Linked DNA regions of Homo sapiens: all the other regions are linked to region 5. Evidence: promoter capture Hi-C in 16 types of primary human blood cells and fetal thymus (Javierre and others, 2016). All regions are on one chromosome and are shown on one strand. The core of a region is centred on a gene start or on the middle of the fragment in contact, and the rest is flanking DNA. Distances in the headings are between cores, read along the strand shown. Region 1 overlaps PKP4 (plakophilin 4). Region 2 overlaps PKP4 (plakophilin 4). Region 3 overlaps PKP4 (plakophilin 4). Region 4 overlaps PKP4 (plakophilin 4). Region 5 holds the start of CCDC148-AS1 (CCDC148 antisense RNA 1). Region 6 overlaps PKP4 (plakophilin 4).

Region 1 (4,084 bases), core at 1,439-3,938, 300 kb after region 5:
ATGCATTTTTGGTCAAATTTTGTTTTCCTTAATACGGGAGAGCAAAATTTTGACAGAAAATGGTTCGCTAGAATTGAGCTTAGATTCTTTTTATTTTTAAAGAGAAACTAGAAGAATGCTTCTCTTCTTGAATGCAGTATATTGCTGTAGGAGTATCTTCGTTTTGGTGCCTGTGAAACAGTTATGGAAAATGGCAACATGAAAACGAGAACAACTAATGTCTGAAATAAGTGTTTCTGGGTGTTGAAAAGCATCATATGTGTGTTTTTATTTGACACAATTTGCTTTGCAGGTTGCATTTATGATAAACCTCTTTGCACCTGGTTATTTTATGTCAGATTCAGTAAAATAATAAGTCAGTTGTCTGACCAATCAGCTTTCTTCCAACACCTACTTTGTGTAGATCATGGACATTGAAAACTATTAAATAGGAGCCTTTAGTTAAGGACTCAACAGAAAGGAAAAAAAATAGAAAAAAATATTTTGCACTCAGAAACGTTTATGTTTTGGTTGCTACGTTGTTTTTCAGCTATGTGCATAATCAGTGAATCTTCTAATTTAGAGGTTTAATTTGTGTCCAGTAACACTGTGGAGGATATTGGGAGGTGTTTGTAAATGCCAACAGGAAACTTTTATTATGTAACAGTATCATATTACAGCAGTGTTTAACCCATGCTTAACCCGTGCTTTTTTGACTTGATGTCAAGATTGGGAAGTAAAAGCAAATTTAGTTTCCCTGCCGCATTAGAAATTGAAAACCCTGTTCAGATGTATGGATCACACACACACACACACACACACGACACACACACACACGATTGGCTGTGCAGATAGTTTTGCCTGCTTCAGGTAAAGGTAACCTTTCAGTTAGAAATGCTTTCTATTTGTTACAGATATTCAAAGAGTGGAAGTTTTTCAACTAGTGATCCTACACAATTGAAAATAACCGAAATTGTATTTTGACCAAAGTGCATTCCCTCCCCACCCCCTACTATTATGTAAGGAGAGGGTGCTGCATCTGGTGTCTTATGTATTATACTGAAGAGTCTAAGTTGGGAAAGCTAAATATCCAATTATTTTAATTTTTACCTGTATTGTTTTTGGAGGGAGATAAGGGAGCAGAGTATTGATGGAAAACAAGGGAAGAAGAAACTAGGGGCAGCTAGTATTCAGCCAGAAAGTAAAATTATATACATTATTGCAGCAGTAATGCATTTATAAGCTGAATAAATCAAATCTAATTTTGTGACTAGTTCTGACATGATATGAATTTAAAGAAACTACTACCAAATTCAGTTTAATAAAAATTTTAGCATTTCTATGACCTTGAGTATTTGGATTAGGTTTAAATTAGAATCGCAGTTTTCTTCCTTTTCTTGTAAATAGGCAAAGTAAATTTAATGTAAAAATTTGAAACTCGCTTTAATTTTTGAAAATGCAATTATTGGCAATTTTTGACCTTAGTAATTTCCATGCTGTTACCCAGGGATCAATTTAAATAATATTCATACCCTGGATGATGCCAACCATCAGGTAAGTCTAGTCTCTTACCTGACTCTTTTGAAATATTAAGGTATTTTGAGAATGCTCTGTAATCTAATGTGTTTTTCTTTCTGTTTCAATTGAGCAGTAATTCCCTACCTTGCTTAATTCTAAAATGGACATCATATCTTCATTCTTAAATGGAAGGTAAAATAGAGGTTACTATAGGGTTATTTTAGGGCATAAATGCCTATGGTATTGTATGTCAGTTTGGGAAGTTTGCCTTCACGCCTTCAAGTGTACAGGGAGATAGTTACTCCTTCAATGTGTGAAATGATTCTGTAGTGCCCTTCCTGCACTGAAGGGGGAAGAAGAATCTGAAACATAACACCAGAGGACTAGGTATGTTTGGAGAATTAAATAACTATTTCACAGCCAGACAACACTACAGACAGCTGCAAATAGAGAAAAGAAGGAAAACTTTTAAGATACGTGGATGTAAGCTTTCATTCTTACATCAATGGAAGTGATGATAGCAGTCAGCAGGTCAGTTCGATGCTCAGTGATAAGAAATAACAGGGTTATTTCAAGGTAAGGTAATCAGGCTCTAAGTTGCCAAGAACAGTAATTCATGTACTTGCTGGTTTCAGTTCAGAAGTTGCATAACATTCAAATATTTCTTACCTTGTCACTTTAATAATTCAGTGGAATTATCTTAATTTAGTGTGCTATGTTACCATTACTAAATTGGGGATGTTACATGATGGTGATCTTCAATTAAACTTAGGAATGTTGCAGACATTTTCTTCATCATTGACCTGTTGTTTTTCCTTTTCATAATTCAGATTTGTTTGATATACCAATAAATGTTGGCTATATCACTGATCATTTTATTATTCATAGTCTTGATAACATTATAGTTTATTATGACTCATATATAATGATTCATTGCAGCTGATAAAATGTTGTTAGGGATTGTATTGTGAGATTTTATTACTACCAAATATATAAATTAAAATGTGGAAGTGTCTGAGTTATTGTAAGTCATGTGATTGCAAAGCATTTTTCCTGAATGGAATAATGCCTGGTGACTGGGTGGGTGCCAATCCAGGTAGCTAGATATAGAATAATACAGTCTTCACAAAATCCAGAACTCACAATATAGGGTAGGGAGGGAGGGGGCCAGGGGAAGCACCTTTCTTTGACATCTGAGGCATGTTTGACTTCTATAGTTTCCTCTCCACTAAATATAAATTGGGTGAGTTGCAAATATTTAATGGTGTTAGTACTGCTCTTCCTTCATCTGTGCCCCTACACTGCCCCCACCACCCTGCCACAACACACACACACTATGCCATCACCACATCTGTGAGCTTGGCAAGGCAGAGGAAGCTCCTTATGGCCTGAGACCATGTACATAAAATGTAGACATTGGTGTCCTGTATTCCAGGTTGAATTTAAAACAGGTATGGGGTTTGACACAAAAATGATACTGTATATGAAGGTTAGGTAAAATATGTATTTGAAGTGAGGCTATCAGGGTACTATGCAGGCTTTTGGGGCCTGGCCCGAAACTTGGAATGCAGTTTTTCATAGAAACCCACAATCAGTTTACAAATAGACTTTTGAAACACTGGCTAGGTGGTATCTGAAGTTTTGGCCCATTGCAAGCTGTGTCTGAATTGCAAGCATGAGGGAAGTAAAAAGCATCCCAAATCAGAAATTAGGAGATCTGCCATTAAACCTTATTACCTTGACAAACCATTTAATGTTTGGATGATAGCTTCCTCCTTTTAAAAATACAATTTGGATTATATTGATCTAAGTTATATTTTAGCTCAAGATTCCTGAAGTTCACAGTGGTTTTTAAAAATTTTTCTTAAGAAAAAAAAAAGAACAAAAAACTTTTCCAAGCTTGAATATACATAATCAGCCCTGTTTCCCCTTGTACCTCAAATCATGGCAACAAGGAAGTTGAATTTCTCTTTTGAGACTTTTGAACCTTCTTCACATTCATTTTTAATTGTTTTGTTTTAAAACAATATCATTTTGGGAAGTGAGGGGAAGGGATGAAGCACATGTTTTCAAAGTCTTGCTGTCTGCCTCTACCCTAGTCTGAGATTACATATGGTAGTTTTGGCCAGGGAAAGTGCTTGGGATTTCACCTTCATACTCAGTGAGGCTCATGAAGTGTCATTAAGGTAGTGAGGTGTCATGATTAGCAGCCTTACTGTCAGGGTCCAATTCTGGCACTGCAACTTGCTGGCTGTGTAACCTGGCAGATTGTATAATCTCTGTGGTCCTCGTTTTGCTCATCTGTAGGATGGAGTGATAAAAGTACCCACTTCATATGGTTGTTGGGGAGATTAAATGAATTAATACATGTAAAGTGCTTACAACAGGAGCTGGTTCAGAGCCAGCGCTTAATACATTGAAATAATTATTTTTACATTGTGGTGCTTTTATGATGGTTTCTGCAGCATTTACCAAATGCCAGGGAAATTATTGGCTTGCTTTCTGTGTGGGTTTTGTCAAAATGATTATGGATTTCAACAGGATATTTCAGAGAAGAAATAAACTGCTGAACAGAAACCATTGTGAG
Region 2 (4,210 bases), core at 677-3,176, 310 kb after region 5:
CTTACTCTATTAAATGCTCTTCTAACACAAATATTTAAAACATTTACAAAGAATTATATTCTTTGTTCTGTGAACACCTGTATAATAGAATTCTTTGTAAATGTTAATTCATCCCTTAAAATTGGACAATTTTTTTTTTGCTTTTATAAATAATGAAATTCCACTTCTAGTTTATGACTGCCTTGAAGTTAAGCCACAGATATGACCACATTTATTTGAAGATGACACTGAGGTTAGTGCTTGTAGAATCGCAAGCTTTTAGACCAAGGAAAGATGTTAGAGATCACCATATGCAGTTCTTTCCTTTTACAGGGGAAGAGCTTGAGATCTGGAGACATGGTCCCTGAGGGTCAACATGCATACCTGTATCAGAAGGCCTGGGCTAGGTACCTTGTTTCCCATCAGCTTATCTAGCCGGAAATATCAGACTTTGCTTCTCCTCTCCCCTACTAATTGAAAAAACAGGAAATGATCTAGCCAACTCAGCTGGAGGTGTGCTTTTGACAAATAAGAAATTAGAAGGAAACCATGCCAAAATGAATGAACTACTTAACTGAAGCAAAAGTATCAGCTCCTGTACCGTTGAGTTAGTAATTATGGCCTGATACCTCAGGAAGTCAAGCATCAGGGGATAGACCCCGTAAAGAAGAAAGAAGTATCAGTCTTAAAGTAAGGTTTCCTGAAATTCTGCTGTCATATTGATCAACTGGGATTAGGCTGAAGTCCAATTTCCTGGCAACAATATCCTGGTTTAAAAAATGGTTAAATTGGGGCATGATGGCACATGCCTGTAATCAACGCTACTTGGGAGGCTGAGGCAGGAATATTACTTGAACTCAGGAGATCGAGGCTGCAGTACACTGTGATCCTACCTGTGAATAGCTACTGCACTGCAGCCTGAGTAACATAGCAAGACACTCATCTCTCAAAAAAAACCAAAAGTCCAAAGCCTCATGCTAACTGAGCTATAGACCAGCTTCTGAGGTATGCCAATAAATAAATTGATGACTGTACTAATGTTTCATATATATAACTGATAAGCCAGGGACAAGGTTTATTCCCTCAGTTCTTATGTTCTAAGAGAAATTTCTAGTTCTGGCTAAAAAATGTTTTCAGTGTCCTAAAATAGACTGGCAAAGGTTAGAGATCTTAAATTTGCAGTTTTGTTTTGAAAGGGTGTGGTTTGAAGCTTAATGTTAACCTCATGTTAGCTATAAGATGTAAGGCTGTTGAATAGGAGCTTATAGCTTTATCCCAGATTTTAAAGACATTATTATTTAGATTTTTTTTTTGATTAGGGAAGCATTCAGAAAAATTACTTCTGAACCTTAAAAGTAATTGTATTAAGTTGTATGTTTTGTTTCTCCCATTCAGTGAGTTAGAATGTTGTAAAATGGGGTTTTCACAAGCAGATGACGTGCTGTGGTTTTGATTTTCATAGTAAATCCTTTAGACTATGCCGATAGTAGTGTTTTTTACATTCTTGTGTTTAAAGACATTAACATGTTTTAGAAGAGTCGTACTAAGTGCTGTCCTAATCAAGATAAATGGAATCATCAGCAAGCCTGTAGTCTGCCCACCGCTCTCTGCCTTGGCAATAGCTCATCGTTTTTTGTTAAGTAGTTTTCTAAATATTTGGATAGATCGCCTAAGTTATCAGTGATGGCTTAAACCTTAATTCATTGTGATAAAGCACAAGCAAAATGTGAATTATCCACATAGTATTTTGGTAACTGTTAAAAAACATAATTTGAACTTTTATTGTAAATGAAACTGATGAACACTAATGATAATTAAACTTTTTGCTTAGGGTTTGTATGGCACATTTTAAATATGGGACAGTACAGAGAATAATGTATGGAGTGCCCATGAAACTATTATTCATATTTTTAAAATCTTGTTTGCCAAGTTTGCTTAAGGATTCTGAAGTTGGTGTTTATCCTCTTCATTATGTTTTTATTTTTACTACATATCTGTATCTCCATAAACATGGGCTTTTAGATGTGGAAAATCTTTGTTACAGTTATGATTTCCTGTCACATTTTCCCCAGTATTGGAATTAGTAAATCCCACCCACTAAGTACTTCCATGGAGAGACTTGTTTCTATTCCTTTCTAGGCTAGGCTGCCAAGCCAGCATTCTCGAGGAGGTTTCTATTCTTTTTATTTTTCCATTAGTAGGAGTTACCTAAGTAGTATTGTTTTTTAAACCTTTTTAATTCTCAAACAATTTAGATATTAAACATTAGCTAACTTTTAAATTCAGCATTTAATTTTTAAATTTATTTTATTATTATTATTTATTTTTTGTCTTTTTTTGATACAGGGTCTCCCTCAGGTTGGAGTGCAGTGGCACAATCTTGGCCCACTGCAGCCTCCACCTCCCGGGATTAAGCGATGCTTCCACCTAAGCCTCTCGAGTAGCTGGAACAACAGGCATATGCCACCATGCCCGGTTAATTTTTGTATGTTTTGTAGAGACGGGGTTTTGCCATGTTGCCCAGGCTGGTCTTGAAATCCTGGACTCAAGCGATCGGCCCGCCTTAGCCTCCCAAAGTGCTGGGATTACAGGCGTGAACCACTGCCCAGCCCAGTTTTTAAAATTAATTTTTTATTTTGTAATTTAACATTTTTTAATTTTATTTTTCCTTAATATAGTCTTATTAAGCTTCTATAGGCAGACTGTCACTTTTGTACTTAAAATGAGAATCATGGTGATGTCTTTATCAATTTGGAAAGGAGTTCAACTAATAGCAACTGTATTAAGGAAAAAAAAGCTTTATATTCTGTCATTGATGGCAGGTGAATAAAAAGCATTAATAACTCTTGATTTATTCTTTAGTCTCTGGTTTACTGTATGACCCAGACAAGCAATCCTTTTTCCAAGTCATGACATGGAAATGTGTATCTAAAGCATTTATGATTCCTCTGTTTACTTGACTTAATATTGAAATCTAGGGCTTGCCCATAAACTGGTTCCACAGTTTTGCTTCTGCCCTAGCTACAACCGGGGCTGCTCATGTGGCTTAAATGTTTGTATCCTTCGTCAGCTGAGGAGGATATCAGAAAGGGGAGATTCATCTTCTTAGACGTTGATTCTGAACTGCTACTGCTTTACAAAGAGCACCAAATTGCAGATCTGTCCCATATCCCTAGGTCAGGAGTACACGCCTGTGTTTTTCTACCCATAAGTCAGTGCCAACTCACAGGTTTTAAAGATTTCTGTTAAATAGTTCCTTTTGTCTTAATTTTAAGTATCTAGCAACTCAAAATTTGCCTCCTATATGGAATTTATTTATTTAGTTATTTTTATTTTATTTTATTGAGACAGAGTCTTACCTTGTAGCCCAGGCTGGAGTGCAATAGTGCGATCTCGGCTCACTGCAACCTCTGCCTCCTGGGTTCAAGTGATTCTCCTGCCATAGCCTCCCAAGTAGCTGGGATTACAGGCACCCACCACCACGCCCAGCTAATTTTTGTATTTTTAGTAGAGACAAGGTTTCACCATGTTCGCCAGGCTGGTCTTAAACTACTGACCTCAAGTGATTCACCTACCTTGGCCTCCCAAAGTAGCTGGATTACAGGTGTGAGCCACCGCGCCTGGCCTCTGGGATTCTTTTTTTTTTTTCCAGTTGTTTCTACTTACAGAAAAATGATTTATTAAAATGGCCAGCATTTCTTTAAGAGGAATAAAAACCACACCCGAGATATTTAATGAAAAATTATATAAATAAGAAATTAATAGAATTTTAAAACTAAGAATTGAAGTGCATATTACAATTGAGATGTATTCTCATACCATAAATTCACTCCTATAAAGGATACAGTTCAGTGATTTTTAGTACATTCACAAAGTTGGACAATCACCATCCCTATCTAATTCCAGAACATTTTTATCACACCAAAAATAAACCCCATACTCATTAAGCAGTCATTTACCATTTCTCTCTCCCCTCAGCACCTGGGAACCACTAATCTTTCTGTCTTTATGGATTCGCCTCTTCTGGACATTTCATGATTTCATGTAAATAGAATCATGTAGTACATGTCCTTTTGTGTCTCACTTTTTTTACTTAGCATGTTTTCAAGATTCATCTATGTTGTAGCATAAATCAGTGTTTCTTTTTAAATTAATTTCTTTTTAAAAGTGATATTATACTTTTTGTTTTTAAATATTGAAATGAGGTCTCACTATGTTGCCTAGTCTGGTC
Region 3 (3,814 bases), core at 515-3,014, 480 kb after region 5:
TTTATTTTGACATGTGGACTGATTATCAAATGTTTTCTTCAAAACATTGAAATGAGAGTGGTCAGTGGGTAAACACTTCATGCAATTGCCATAAGTAAAGTAGGTTGGACCAGAAGACTTCAGAAATGAGTTCCCAGTTCAAAAAGCCAAATGGCAGCTGTGTTTGATTTATACCTAAACATTGTCTAACTAACATGAAACAAGTCACAATATAAATCTAGCATAGTTGCTTTTTTTGTGTGTGTACATGTATTTATAGTCTAAGCTTTATAGAGACAGCAAAATTGCTCACATTTCCCAGTCCTACAATTTAGTGGTACCAATCTTAACTGATGTTCAGTAATATTTTAAGGGTGATTGATCCTTGATACATATTAAAGCATGAAAACATCAAAAAATGCTTGAACTCTTCTTTCTTCTTTCATTAAATCTTCCTCACATCAAATGCTCAAGCCGTCTTTAATTGTAGCACAGGGTTGGGGGAGACCTCAGAACTCATTTTGTTCAGTCATCCATCCAGTGCATGAATCTCCTGTACAGTTTCCATACAAAGTAGCCGCCATCACATGCATGAACCCACAGCACAGGAAGCTCATTACCTGGTGGGGTTAAGTCTGGACAACAAGGTTATCCAGAAAGCAGCAAGAAGTTATCTGATATAACTTGAAAAGGCAAAAAATACAGACCCTCAGGAGGTCATTTTTGCATAGGAATGGCCCTACAAAAAGACCAGTTCCACCCTAGATCCAGCCACCAGCACTCCTAACCAAGGAAGTAAGCCCCCAGTCTGAACTGTCGTTAAAGCACGTCTGCTCTGAACTCAGGCTGAAGGTGCTGTGTGACCGTGTCACCCAGCATTCCCCATCAGGTGCCCATCTCCTATAAAGTCCCCTTTGAAAACAGAACATTAGCCTTAGATTTTAGTGTTCTGCTAGTATCATTCACAAATACCATGGCTAGCCTTGCACGGTGCTTGGCCTTTGTAGGTACGGTCCACACATTCCTAAGTGAAAATTATAGTCAACTTAGGATCATGAGATGTTAAAATACAGTGAACCATTGTGTTCCAAATATTATATAATTTGAAGAAACTACTATGCCCTTGAAACTAGGAATTCTTTGATTCTTAATATTAAGTAATTCAACCCAGTTATTAATCCAGTCTTTTTTTCTAGTTCCCTTTGTTTCAGTTTGGCAGTTTTTACTGTACTTAAGTGGAGAAATTTTAGCTGTTTTTTATAAAGATGCCTTGCCTTTGCTTTAAACACAATAACTGCCCAGGGCCTATATTTTTGGCCACATCTTTATTTTCAGAGGGAAAAAAGGACTTTTCTTCAAATGTATTTTCCCAAGACAATATGGCTGTCATTGTTAATTAAAATGGTTCTCTAGTATGTAACATGATTCTTGTGTTTTCCTCATTGTGTTGAACATTTTCCAGTTGAAACCTAATGAGCTTTTCTTTTAGTAAGTGCTGATATATGTGAGTGCTTAGGGTAATTTTTCTTTTATTCCAAAAGTATTTTTTGCTGTTGTTGTACTTAAACTTGAAAGCTGGATGAAGTATGGTTGTTCCCCAGTTTGGTTATAAAATGAATGTCTGCTAGGCCACAAAGTATGGAGGACAGATGGGAACATCTTGTCACTAAAAAAGATATGTTGAACTCATTTGTTCAAAATAATTAAATAGTGTTTCTAAGCTAGGAAACATGAGTTTCAAGTTATTGAGCCTCCTGAAAACATCATTTTTTAAAACTATAGACATTGAAGATATTGCACAAATCTGGAGGCCTGCTTTTTAATGTACGTACCAGATGTCCCCAACTGTCACACTTCTATTACCCTCTTAAATACCAAAAAGTAGCCTTTGTTCTTCGGTAATAATAGACTTTGTTCATATGACTGCTACATGTACATTTCTTCCAATTTAGTAAGTGATTATTCATCCATATAGCTAAGTAAAATATTTCCACTGTTTATTGTGAAATGTTTGGATGCCAGCAATGGATTCCAGACACTGCAGAACATGAAATGAAGTGTATTGTTTTCCTGATCATTAGCTCCATATTTTTAATTCGATGATAAATTAATAAGAAAATAATAGTTGTAACTAAGGAAGGGTAGATGGGCCAGGCTAAGGTTTAACAAAGGGCAGAACAGTCTGGCAAGAATTAGTCTTATATACTATAAAAAGCAGGAGCTTAGTGGACATGCCTTTTGGACGATTACTTGCCGTTACAGGATGAAAACAGTTTACGAAGCATGTCCCCTTAGCCTAATTAATATGCCTTCAAAACAGGTCATTTATGCTCTGGTCCAGAGAGGAGTCAGTCCTACTGTTATGGGCCACTAGGGCTGTTAGAAGCTATGTGGGTCATTTTTAGAAATCTAGCAACATCTCCTCCCAATTCCCAGCCCAAATCAGTAAGGATCCATGTCACTTGGTCCACTTTATAAAACATAGCTGGGTGCAGTGGCTCACACCTGTAATCCCCACACTTTGGGAGGCCAAGGAAGGCAAATCACTCGAGGTCAGGAGTTCAAGACCAGCCAGGCCAACATGGTGAAACCCCATCTCTACTAAAAATACAAAAATTAGCCAGGTGTGGTGGCACATGCCTGTAATCCAGCTACTAGAGAGTCTGAGGCAGGAAAATCGCTTGAGCCTGAAAGGCGGATGTTGCAGCGAGTCGACATCGCGCCACTGCACTCCAGCCTGGGCGACAGAGACTCTGTCTCAAAAAAATAAATGAAACAATCACAACAGAAACATTCCCTTATTCACTGAACATTTCAAACCCTGAAAATGTGTAATGAGAAATGACAAATTTTTAAAAGTTTAATTACTAAGAAGACAAAAAATGTCTATTATGAATAGACCAATTCTCAATTGGTAGAGAACTTTGAACTGGAAAGAACCCTAAAGAAATCTCCTGTCTACCCCTGTTATTACAGATTAGAAACCGAAGTCCAGGAAGGTTGAGCAGGCAAGTCTCCAGGCTGAGTTCCTGATGTCCAGGCTGGAGGTGTTTCTTCCCTGACCCTTCCCCTGCCTACCCTGGCCACTGAGAAGGGCTGAACAGGAGCTAAATCTGGAGGGTACAAATGTTATTTCCCTTGTTCTTTAAGATTACCACCAAAAAGGGAAAAGAAAAAAAGCCCCACAATAAACTACTCTCTGAATTTTACCCAGGACCATAGAGAAATATCCCTGAATTTCACCACTAGCACTATAATATCAAACTAGTGATCAAGTATAATCATAAAGCTTCAGTTTGCTTAGGAAGTCTATGAAACGTGATTTTAGGTCTTGCGTCTATTTCAAGATTTATAGTTTTGAGTATGAAAAGATTCAACCCTCTAAGTGGAATATGACCCTGTATTTTGAGTGTAGGCTTCCGAGTGCCAAGCACAAGGAGGCAGTCAAGTAGGGAGTCTCAGAAGGTCACTTATAAGACTTGGGTATTCAAACATCAGTCAGAGTGGAACTTCTCAGCAAAAGAGAGGCCCTGTAATAACATGCTCCCTCAGTTGACTAGACGTCCTACAAATGCAAGAAAGGTGGGAATATGGAGACCCCAGGCCAGGTCCTGCAAATGCTTTGCAGTTTCTGAGTATGATGCTCTATAGCTTGCAGCTGGAGGCACCTTTGTCTCTAAGCTTCTGCCAGCACCAGACAACTGGGTTGAAGATCTAGTGCAGTTACAGATGAGCAAGTGTGTTCCTGGAACATGTAGGTCAGCTGTGGAGTATATGACTTCAGTGACAGTTTCTTGGGCAAATCTCTATGATAGTGTAACTGTGACAGTATAAA
Region 4 (4,143 bases), core at 361-2,860, 440 kb after region 5:
GATTGAAGGTCCTCATTTATCCTCATTTATTTTTATACTTTGCATGTTTACTTTCAGACACTTTCTCTACCTTTTTTCTTAAGTTTTACAAATTTGACTTGAAAAGCTTAGCTCTTTAAAAGCCTTTCAGCAATAGGTGGATTGTTAGAGATGCAATGGTTTGATCACTGCTTAGGAGCGATCCCTGCTTACTCAGGTGTTTTCAGGATGTTATATTCTGTTGAAATGTGGTAAACTGGAACCAGCCTTTGAATTGGATTTTTAAATAGCTAACCTACTGCAGCATCATTTTCTAAGGAAGAGCTTAGGATGCCCTAGGCAGAAGAGATTTTCATTTCACTCTCATTTCATTAGATTCAGGAGACTCTAGCTTGCTTGTTTGTGTGTTTATTGTTGAGGGGCTGGGGGCAGAAGTTAAGGAGGGTAGGACATTTGAAAACAAAAAGCCCAAGTTTCTGAAGTATGGGAGCTGAGAAAGATACTTCCCAAAGAACGAGGAAGAGCTGCCCATTCTGCCAAACATTTTTATTTTCTCAGGTCTTTAAACTTCTTCCCTAGAAGTAATAAAGTTGTTTTGGAGCATTTATGCTTTATTATTATCTTGACTTTTGCCCTTTCTCTTCATTATTCTGTACCCTCTAGCTTACCAGTGTTACATATTTGCATTCTAAAAATATAAATGCACATCTTTTGTGTTTTTTTATGAGGAGCAGTTTATTTATGTTTCAGCTTTGTCTTTTCTTGCATGTCTTATAACCTTGTGTATTCTGCTGAAACATTTCCGAGGGAATGTTATGTTAGCGCTCCCTTCTGTTTCCATAATATTAGTGTGTCAGTTTTTCCATTGTTCACTGCTTCACATCTCGAAATATACAATCTCTGTGTGCCATCAAAATTTGAGGTAACTTGTAAGAACGTATATAATACAATAAAAAATAAACATCAAAATCACAGAAAATACATACTAGAATAATAGGTAAAGGGTGATGAAAGTGAGAAGCATGTATAATCATAATTCTTCATGAGCGAAAATGCTATACAGAATCTTTTTCTTTAAATCCTTTGAACGTACCTCTTTTTAAAGAAAAACACCAACTCAATAATAAAAATAGCTACACACAGTATATGCTACCCATCAGAAAGAATCTATAGGTTGAAGCCATGGATTGAAGTTTTTTTGTCAAAACAGTCATTGATTGTTACTTAGGTCCCCCAGTCACATTCCATGAAGTGAATTTTGCTGCAAGTCACAATATCACAGTTTTTCTGTTTGCGAGAAAAAAAAATTACTAGAGTTTAGGTGGTTGCCAACTTGAGTAGATCTGTGTAAAATGCAGGGGAGGAGAATCGGCCTCAGAATCCAGCCTCCCTCCGCCCCAGCTCTTCCTAGCACATTAGACCAGGAGCAGTCCGTCTTACAGGGCTGGAATGTGCTGCTCTGTCCCCACCAGCCAGCCAGCCAAGCTCATTCTTTTTAACACTGCTGTGTTCCTAGAAAAAGAAAGTGTTCGAGAAATTGATGGATGTTACGTAGGTGATAAAGAATTGGTGCTCATGGGTAAGAAATTAGAGGCCAAAAAAGATTGGAATCTCTACCAAAACAACAAGTGAGAGAAATTTTCTGGTTGACTCAGAAGGCACTGAGGGGTTAATAGATTTGGATGAACAGGAGAGAAAATAGTAACAATTCTGTGCAGTTAGGAGTTTTGATGTTTGACAGTAAATATGGAAGGGAAGAAAAAAGACCATAGTAAAATAGGAAGTTTAAAACTGATTCTATAACTTCACAGTGCTGCATTCATTTATTGTATAACAGGTATTGAAGTGGTATGATTTTAACATACTATTCATTTAAATCATTACTGTGTGAAATACTGGCATTAGTTAATGTTTACTACTAAATTTAAGACTGTAGGAGCTAGGCTGTGCATTTTGTTTATGTATTTAAATTTTGTTTCTAAAATGTATAGATACAAGTTTCTTCCACTGGGATGAGCTTTAAAAAATAAAAATAAAAAAACATCAATACCGAAGATAAATGACAAATGAGAAAGTAGTCCTAAGTCAATTTATCTTTTCTTTTTTCCTCCATCTGGTGCAAGTAATTTACAACACAAAAATTCATCAGCACATCATGAGATAAGAAGTTGACTTAAATTGAAACACTTTATGCCTCAGTAGAAATGTACTGAATTTATAAAGGAGATACAGTAGGAAGTGAGTGTTGTATTGTACATGTTCATAAACAAAATATTAGATCAGCAATCATGTATAAAGGACTATTATTGAGGATTTTGGATGCCGTCATTTATTATAGCCATAAACTTTACAAATGACAAAACTTTATCATATATTTCTTCCTGTTTCTCTTCTAAATATAAGGATGATAAGAATTTCTTTTAAAATCAGCTGTAGAGTACAAGTTTCTCTCCCTTATTTTCTACAGGCCCATTTAGCCACACAGTCTTGACTGCCTTTTTACCAACTGCAGTGCTATAGCTTCCTGATTGCCACTATAAAAGCTCTTCTTAACTTACTGTTTTAAGATGAAAATAAGATATGCTTCTTTAAAAAAAAAAAAACAGCCTGGAAGAATCTGAGTAAAAGGTAGAAATTTCCTTCATTCCAACATGTTCCCATACCATGACCAACACACCTACACAACTGCACACACACACACACACATAATGTATAGGAAAAAATCTGGAATAATGAAACACCCCAGACTGTTAACTGTGTTTGTATGTATGTCTAAGTATCCACACACATTTGAGTTGTTTGTTTTGGTTTAACACAAATGAAGATACACTCTACGTTATTCTGTGACTTTTAAGTTTTTCCCCTAACATTACAAAGTAATGGATGTGTTTCTATATCAGTATATAAAGCCCTATTTCTTTTTAATGGCTAAATAGTATTCATCGTTTGAAAATTTATATAACCAGTTTCTTATCAGTGAACATTTTGTTTTTTCCAGTTTTGTACTTTGACAGACAATGAGAAGATTCTTTCTGCACATATATGAGTGTCTCTGATAGGATTTCTGTAACTGAAACTTCCTGGACAAGGGTGTATACATTTTAATTTTGACAAATATTGTCAGTTTGCCCACCAGAAAGCTTAACAATTTATGCTCCTACTGATAGCACCTGGTAGTCCTATCTACACTTACTATGTTACCAGAGTACAGGAATGTAAATCTTCATGATTATTTAAAATTTTAATAAGTTACTAGGCTTTAACAAAAACATTTGTTTCAAATTTCTCTATATCATAAAACAGGAACAGATTGAACAAAGTAAGATAATTTTTAAATATCATTATTAACTATTCATTAAATCATAACACTCCATGGAAACTTGAGCATACCCCGGACCATCATGCTAATTAACTCGTTCTCATGGAGATTGGAGATCAGCATGACCTTAGAATATAGTAAAAGTATCATACTGTTTCCTGTCAGTTTGGCTTTCTTCTGTCTTCATAGCTGGCTCAAAATGATCAGATACATTTTTCTATCATGAAAAATGCAACAACCACTACCAAATCAAGCAAAAAACAAACTTAAAAAATCACCACTGGATATAATTGTGGGTGCCAACATCTCACTCCAGAGGTTCCTACACACTGCTATACTTCAGAGTCACCTGCAGAGCTACTAAAATCTTGACGCCCAGGCATCACCCCCACACAATTTAGTTCGAAAGTCTGAGTTGGGAACCAGGCGTCAGTGGGGTTTAACGAGTCCCCAGGTGACTCCAGTGTGCACAGTTTGAGAACCACTGCTTTATTCTAAAACCTAGTCATTAAAGAGAAGAATTAAAAATTTATCCTGCCTGTCCTGTTCATATTTCAGGATAAGTAAATAATCCTAGCTATTATGTAAAATATTCCAAAAGAATTCCTGCTGATAAATGTAGAAAGAATAACAAAATTAGAAAAATCACTAGTTTGCAAGCCCTAATGAAATAATTCAAGCAAAGATTGTCAGTGGATGCTAAAACCTCTTAAGTTCCCAACCCTAGCTGCACAGTAGAATCACCCTGGGAGTTTTTTAAAGTTCCATTATTCAGAATACAGCTTAGACTGATTGAATTGGAATCTCTGAGTGTGGGACTTGGACAGCAATAGTGTTAAAATTCC
Region 5 (3,702 bases), core at 1,078-3,577:
CATGGATGAACCTTGAAAACATTATGGTAAGTGAAATAAGTCACACATAAAAGGACAAGTATTATATGATTCTGCTTATATGAAGTACCTAGAATAGACAAATTCATAGAGAAAAAAATTAGAATAGTGGTTACCAGAGGCTGAGGGGAGGAGGTGTATAGTTTTTGTTTAATGGGTTCAGAGTTTCAGGTTGAGATGATGAAAAAGTTCTGAAGATGAATAGGGGTGATTGTTGCACAACAATGTGAAAATACTTAATGCCACTTAACTGTATGCTTAAAAATGGTTAAAATAGTAAATTTTATATTATGTATATTTATCACGATAAAAAGTCAATGTCTTGAAAGACAACAAAGGCTGTAGAAATGAATCAAATTAAAGAAGAACACAAAAGCAATTTAAAAGTTGAATAAAATGTTAACAATGGGAGAATCTGGGGTAAAGTTACAACAATTTTATTCTTGCGGCTATTCTATAAAGTTATTTCCAAATAAAAAAAGTTTTTAAAAATGAAGAAAGAGATTAAAAGAATTCAAAACAAAGTGACAAATAAAGACTACAGACAAAGAAGATCCAACATAGCATAATAGCATAATAACAGTCCTGGGGAAAAAAGGAAACATAACAAACACTAAAAATTATAATTTTACAAAATTCCTGAAATAAAATTGAATTTATATTGTGAAAGGGAATATAATTTACTAAGTATATTAACCCAGAATGACAAACACAAAGTCCAGTAAAACTGCTATATTATAAAGGAAGTGAAAAAAACTCTAATTAGGCAAAAAGATCAAGTGATTCTTAGGGAAAGAAAACCATGTTATAGCCAGCCCTTTGACATTTTATGCTAAGAAAAGAAAATGTAAATAAAGTATCTTAGACCCAGGAAAAATTTATTTTCAACTATAAAGACGACCATCAACCTGTTATTAACATTCAAGGACCCAGAAAATATTGCTTCCATGACTAATTCCTAAATAATCTTCTGGAAAACAGGCTTCAGACAACCTAAATGACAAGAGAGAAATTGACATTAAAAACTGGCAGTATTGGTAAATATATATTTACTAATAGAATAAGATTCAATCATGGATAAAAGAGAGTGTGTATAATGTCTACACAGTCCCTCGCAATATAGATAACAAAAAGAAAAAGAATAGAAAAGGCATAATAACCCCAAATTTTATTATTTTTGTTTTTATTATATTGGTATTTTATTCTAAGACTTTTGTGTGGATAATGTAAATGAGTAATTATGTCATATTCTAACATCCGTGTGTAATTGGGCACCAGAATTGTCAGTAAGGAAAAAAGAAAATACAAAAGTAACATACAAGATATCAAGTGAAAATCCTATGGAATTTGAAGTAACAGAATAAATAAAAAAAAATTTTATCTTTAGATAATATAAGCGTATGTCTGGATTTGTTGGGTTTTTTTTGTTTGTTTTTGAGGCGGAGTCTTGTTCTCTCACCTAGGCTGGAGTGCAGTGGCACGATTTCGTCTCACTGCACCCTCTGCCTCCTGGGTTCAAGTGATTCTTGTGCCTCAGCCTACTGAATAGCTGGAATTACAGGCGCTCTCGACCACACCTTATTAATTTTCATATTTTTAGTAGAGACAGGGTTTCACCATGTTGGCCATGCTGGTCTTGAACTTCTAGCCTCAAGCGATCCACCTGCCTTGGCCTCCCAAAGTGCTGGGATTACAGGTGTGAGCCACTGCACTTGGCCTGTTTTGTATATATGTCTGTACATGTATATGTATATGTGTATGTATATGCATATGTATGGGAGTGTGTGTGTGTGTGTGTGTGTGTGTGTGTGTATTTTCTAACCATGCTCATTGAAAAGGTCTAGAATAGAAGATCAACCTAGTAGCAATGTGTATTCTTTGTCTCCAAATTTTGGTTTTGAAATACGATTTTCCAATAAAAAGAACCAAAGCTTCTCAGAGAAAAGGTTAGTTCCAGGTCAGAGCAAGAAATATTCAAAATGAGCTTAAAACATCTTGTTATGCCCGATAACAAACATGACAGATTTCAAAAAGTGGCTGCAAAAATATTTCCTATTTCACATACTTTTTTCCAATGTGACCTTGCCATCAATAAGTGGACTTTTTCTCAGCCTTTTTTAATCTGGGAGAGTTCTATGACTGCTTTGATGAAAAGAGTATGGAGGAAAAGACCCTATCCCAGTTCCAGCAGTAGATCTTAACTGGTCTAGCAGCTTGCATTTTATACCTCTTAGAATGTTTGCTCTTGGAAAATTCTATCTTGGAACCCAGCTACCATTCTATGAAAAGCCAAGCCATCTTGAGAAGTCATGTGTAGGTGGTCGGTCCCATTGACAACCTCAAATGAGCTGCCAGCCAACAACCAGCATCAACTGCCAGTCAGGTAAGTGAGTCCTCTTGGTCATTCAGCCAAGTTGAGCTTTTGGATGACTACGTCCTCAACTAGCAATTGACTACAAATTTATAATATACCCCGTGGTAGGCAGAAAATGTCTCCCAAAGATGTCAATTTCCTAATCTCCATAATCTGTGAATGTTATGTTACATGGCAAAGGGTATTCTGATCGCTAATCACCTGACCTTAAAATAGGGAGATTATTCTGAATTATCAGAGTGGGCTTAATGTGATCACAAGAGTTCTGAGCAGTGGAAGAGGGAGGCAAAAGAGGAGTGTGGAGTGCTGGGATGTCAGAAGGATTAGGCCTGCCACTGCTAGCTTTGAAGATAAAAGAAAGACAGCATGAGCTAAGGACTATAGGCAGCTTCTAGAAGCTGGAGAAGGCAAAGAAACCGATTATCTCCTAGAGCCCTGAGAAAGGAATACAGCCCTGTCAACACTGTGATTTTAGCCCAATGAGATTAAATTCTGATTTTTGACCTTCCAAAACTATAAGATAGATTTACATTGTTTAAACCATTAAATTTGTGGTAATTTGTTACAGCAGTGATAGGAAATTAATATAGGCCCCAAGTGAGAACTACCCAGTAGAGCCCAGTCGACTCATAGAAACATGAGAAATAATTTTTAAAAATGAAGTTTGAACCACTAAGTTTTACTGCATAGCAATAGATAACTGGAATAGCAAGGAAGTTACCAAGTCTATTAGGCTATCTGAATAGAATTCATAAGCCAAACTGAAAAGGTTTCCATTAGGCAAAGGGGGAATAAATGGAGCATCAATAAGGATAACACTTTAATAGAGTAAATGATCAAATACATTTAAATTCATAACTTCATAAAGATACAACAAAATTGATCACCTTTGCAGGATGTCAAAGAATAAATTCATTATTTGTAAAACTGTTAGGTTAAAAAAAAAACTCAAACACTTAGCCTACTCCTCTTATACTATCAAATACCAGAAGAGGAAAATTTTTTTCTTTATGTAATTTTTCCAGTAACAAAGGAAAGAGTGATTGAATTTGAATATATCTCTACCATGCAATCTGTAAGTAATTAATGGACTTAGGCATTGAGAATTAGTGGCAGCAAAAATTGCAAAAAGAAGTTCCATCCGATAACATGCATATCCTGCTGGGGGAACACACCACCACAATAAAGTAGCCTTGGAAAAAAGAAAAGAAGAGAACGACCTGAGTCTTATGTCTGATAAAGCCTCTGGGTCAACTACCAATTTATGGCAAACACAAAGAACAAAGGAGAGAGGAATACATTAAACTATT
Region 6 (3,725 bases), core at 819-3,318, 460 kb after region 5:
TATTGAAATAAGTGAAAGCCTTTTACCCTCACCCAGTCCCATCACAGTTGATGTGGCTTTCAGAATGTTTCTTTGCATTTACAAATATATGCAATCCATGCAAATCTGCACACACATTGTGTTTTCTATTGATGGAATTCTATCATATAGATCTTCTATACTTTGTTCTTTTCACTAACTATGTCTTAAGAGCTCTACCTCATTCTTAATAGATGCATGGGACCCATTTTTTATAGATATATCATAATTTATTTGCATTTTCCTCCTAATGGACAGTTAGGTTGTTTGTTATGTTTAGCTGTTAGAGATGATGTAGTACATACATTGTTCTCCCTGCATATTTCACATAAGTACTAGGGTAACTGGGATCCAGTAGAATTGCTGCATCAAAATATATGTGTATTTTTACTTTGAGAGATATTACGTAGAATTGCCTTCTAAGAAGGTTACACACGGATTTATATTTCTGCCAGTAGTTTGAGTGCCTGTTTGTCTATACCTTGTCTACACTGCACTAGTGCTGCATATTCCAAGTTTTTCATCTTTGCCAATCTGATAGGTAAAAAGCTGTACCTCATTGTTTTTAAGGGCTTTTATTGAGTTATGACTGAGGTTGAAGATTTAATCTGTTCATCAACGACTTTATTTCATTTTGTGAAACTACAAGTTCTTTTGTCTATTTTTATAATTCGTGAAAGCTTTTTTTTACTAGAGATAAGCTAGCACCTCGTAATATGCTTCTCAAGTATTTTTTCCATTTTGTCACTTCTTTTTATTTCATTTTGGTTTTAATTTACAAAACTGTTTAACATTCTTACATAGTAAAATTAGTATCTTTTTTATGTCTTCTAAGAAAATTTAAGCCTTTTTGAGATTTTTGTGATTGAATAATTTTGCCTGGAGAATTTATATTGAACTTGATTTTTGAGCTCAAAGAAATTCTTAGTGGAGAAACCACCTCTTTTTCATTCATCTATCCAAGAAGTGTGCTTGACTTAGATATTTTCTGAAATGCCTCTGAAAAGTATGCAGCAAAATGATGTAGGAATCATTTATGAAATTCTACCTCCCAAGGAAATCTTAGAAAATAAATAGTTCTGAGGACTTCCATATTCCCCCGTGTGTATAGAACAGCTATGTAGAAATCTCTGCTTGTAAGAGAGTAGAGAGGAGACTGGAGGAAGGAAGCCAGCATATAAATTATTGTCTCCATATTTAACCCTAAGAGGACTCATTTCCTCTGGTTTAAACAGTCTGTTTCTCTGACAATGCAGGTAAAATTAGACTTTATGTCTTGGGGGGAAAATATATATAATGTCTATTTTTTAGGCCCAGCCTCTCAGTGATTTTTTTCTAGAAATACTGCAGTGTTCTCAAGAAGCAAAGTGTTCTTGATTTCAAAGGACTAATAGCCTGCTAATTGATAAGCAATGTTTTGTACTACATTCAGGGACTTGGGTATTTGATGATCATAATTTAAATGATACAAACTACAGAAATATATATATATATACTCTAAAATGTTCATTTCAGAATAATCATGGCATGTAAAGAAAACTTTTGAGGAGATAAAGAATTGATCTTTGAAAGATAAATTTATGTTTATTTCTAATGCCATAAATATAAATATTTTTAATCACATGGAATCACCGTAATAATAGCTAAACTAATATGTTTGTGGAATTGCAAATAGAAAGTATTGGTTGGATAAATAATGCAGTGGCGTATCAGTGTTTTCCATTATTTGGAAGGGGAAGTAATGTTATTAAAAATTAATCAGTGGAAATGCTTCTGAAAAAATTATTTTTTATTTATTTTTATTTATTTTTATTTTTTTATTTTTTTTTGAGACGGAGTTTCGCTCTGTCACCAGGCTGGAGTACAGTGGCACGCTCTCGGCTCACTGCAACTTCCGCCTCCCGGGTTCAAGCGATTCTTCTGCCTCAGCCTCCCGAGTAGCTGGGACTACAGGCGCCTGCCACCATGCACGGCTAATTTTTGTATTTTTAGTAGAGACGGGTTTTCACCATGTTGGCCAGGATGTTCTCGATCTCTTGACCTCGTGATCTGCCCGCCTCAGCCTCCCAAAGTGCTGGGATTACGGGTGTGAGCCACCACACCCAGCCCTGAAAAAATTATTTCTAATACCAATTATAGAACATAATTATTTGAATTCCAGTTTCAATAATAGTAAATTATAGTGAGCTGTCTACACATATTCATTTTACTTAATCTACAGAGGCTATTTACTGTAATTTTTTAAAATGCTAATCTATAGGACTGTGTACTTGTGTTTTTAAACACACGAGCGGGTAAACAAAAATAGTTTACTACTATTTATTATGTCATTCAGAAGGATTCTTAATATCAAGAAAGTGCTACATCCCACTAAAGTTCTAAGTCTTTTATTTCCCATTATAGCCTATCACATAATAGTAATTCCAATTTACTAATGATCCTATAACGAGTGAACATCTGCTGGTTATTTTTTATATTTCTAAATGCAAAAAGCTCATTTTGTTACCTTTCTCATGAAATCATAGTCTGTGCTTACAAAACCTTTCAGATTGCATGGATTCCAGTGACGAATCCAGCCAGATACTTGTAAAATGAGAATATAACATTGTAATCGTGGTGCAGAATGCTTTGTCTTATTTCACATCCCTGTGCAGTAGTGGGAACATGAGGACTCAACCGATGTCAGAAGCATCCAGTCTTCGGCTTGGCTCTGTCCAAGTGTAAATGATCCTCAGTGTCTTGCACTGAGTCGTGAGTGTCTGTGGCTCTGTTGGGTGTTACAATAGCACCTCATAATGATAAGATTATCGAGGACTAGGTACATTCACCTGTCTGCTTTATGTCACTGTTAACAAAAACTGTGCACTTTTGTCTAAGGTATTCATGGGCTCCATAAAGAAATAGAGCTTAGACTCTGCTAAAAATGATAATAATAATGAGAAATTGGCCAGTGCCTAAAAAGCTGAAATCCTCAAAAGGGAATTTTGCAATAGCAATCACAGTGTCATCTTTAAAGTTGGTTTCCATGGCCCCCTCCTTGGTGTGCTTACCTTCCTCTTTAACCTGGTGTTTGTGGAGGGCTCTGTGGAGTTCAGACTTTTCCTCACCATGTGCCGTTGCTCCATGAGGGATAGCTGTGTCCAGTATTGGGTGTATAATGACAGAACACTGACCTGTGCTTTCCTGTCAGCTCGGCAAGGAAGTAGCTCTCTAATGGGGGCGAATCACATTTCCTTTTGGACTCTGTTTCCTCGGTTTTGAAATGAGGTTTGGCTGGATAATCTCCCAGTTATAAGATTGTATAAACCTGTGGTCTTCGTTATAGCAAGAGGGGAGCCAGTAGCTAAAACCCACATTGATTCGTTTAGTTTCTTTCCATGTCACATTGCTGTCCAGGGTAGGTAATAATCATTCACTTTAGAAGCTTTATGCATGTGTTAACTTTCTTGCCTCTCCTCACTAACCAACATGTAATTAGCACTCTTATTCAGGTCCATTTGCTTTTAGTTGTGATTTGATTAACTGAACTAACAGGATGGGAGCAATCTTTTTTTTTTTGAGACAGACTCTGTCTCTGTTGCCCAGGCTGGCGTGCAGTGGCGCGATCTCGGCTCACTGCAACCTCCCGCCCCCAGATTGAAGCAGTTCTGTGCCTCAGCCTCCCAGGTTCAAGCAATTCTCTGCCCAGCCTCAGCTGGGATTACAGG

What was found. The method cuts DNA at HindIII sites, captures the fragments that hold promoters and counts their contacts. A CHiCAGO score of 5 or more calls a contact.
Region 1: a contact is called between a fragment that was not itself captured here and the fragment with the promoter of CCDC148-AS1 in region 5, in 1 of 17 cell types (megakaryocytes). The highest score is 6.0, in megakaryocytes.
Region 2: a contact is called between a fragment that was not itself captured here and the fragment with the promoter of CCDC148-AS1 in region 5, in 1 of 17 cell types (megakaryocytes). The highest score is 5.5, in megakaryocytes.
Region 3: a fragment that was not itself captured here is called in contact with the fragment with the promoter of CCDC148-AS1 in region 5 in 3 of 17 cell types (endothelial precursors, M1 macrophages and megakaryocytes); the score reaches 7.6 in endothelial precursors.
Region 4: a fragment that was not itself captured here is called in contact with the fragment with the promoter of CCDC148-AS1 in region 5 in 2 of 17 cell types (endothelial precursors and M2 macrophages); the score reaches 6.6 in endothelial precursors.
Region 6: a contact is called between a fragment that was not itself captured here and the fragment with the promoter of CCDC148-AS1 in region 5, in 2 of 17 cell types (M2 macrophages and M1 macrophages). The highest score is 6.1, in M2 macrophages.

Annotation. Positions count from the first base shown.
Region 1 is chr2:158,459,012-158,463,095 of GRCh38, forward strand. The region is part of intron 1 of PKP4 (plakophilin 4); the gene reads left to right. Among named protein-coding and RNA genes, the nearest start is that of PKP4, 4.1 kb to the left of the region's middle. The HindIII fragment of the contact is 1,411 bases long and covers 1,984-3,394 here.
Region 2 is chr2:158,476,932-158,481,141 of GRCh38, forward strand. The region is part of intron 1 of PKP4 (plakophilin 4); the gene reads left to right. Among named protein-coding and RNA genes, the nearest start is that of PKP4, 22 kb to the left of the region's middle. The HindIII fragment of the contact is 1,478 bases long and covers 1,188-2,665 here.
Region 3 is chr2:158,646,255-158,650,068 of GRCh38, forward strand. The region is part of intron 11 of PKP4 (plakophilin 4); the gene reads left to right. Among named protein-coding and RNA genes, the nearest start is that of PKP4-AS1, 87 kb to the right of the region's middle. The HindIII fragment of the contact is 3,003 bases long and covers 264-3,266 here.
Region 4 is chr2:158,609,449-158,613,591 of GRCh38, forward strand. The region is part of intron 4 of PKP4 (plakophilin 4); the gene reads left to right. Among named protein-coding and RNA genes, the nearest start is that of PKP4-AS1, 120 kb to the right of the region's middle. The HindIII fragment of the contact is 3,013 bases long and covers 105-3,117 here.
Region 5 is chr2:158,164,323-158,168,024 of GRCh38, forward strand. CCDC148-AS1 (CCDC148 antisense RNA 1) reads left to right here and starts at 2,328. Exons shown (of 5, transcript NR_038850.1): 1 at 2,328-2,401. The HindIII fragment of the contact is 5,438 bases long and covers 1,948-3,702 here.
Region 6 is chr2:158,626,153-158,629,877 of GRCh38, forward strand. All of the region lies in intron 7 of PKP4 (plakophilin 4), which reads left to right. Among named protein-coding and RNA genes, the nearest start is that of PKP4-AS1, 110 kb to the right of the region's middle. The HindIII fragment of the contact is 2,744 bases long and covers 697-3,440 here.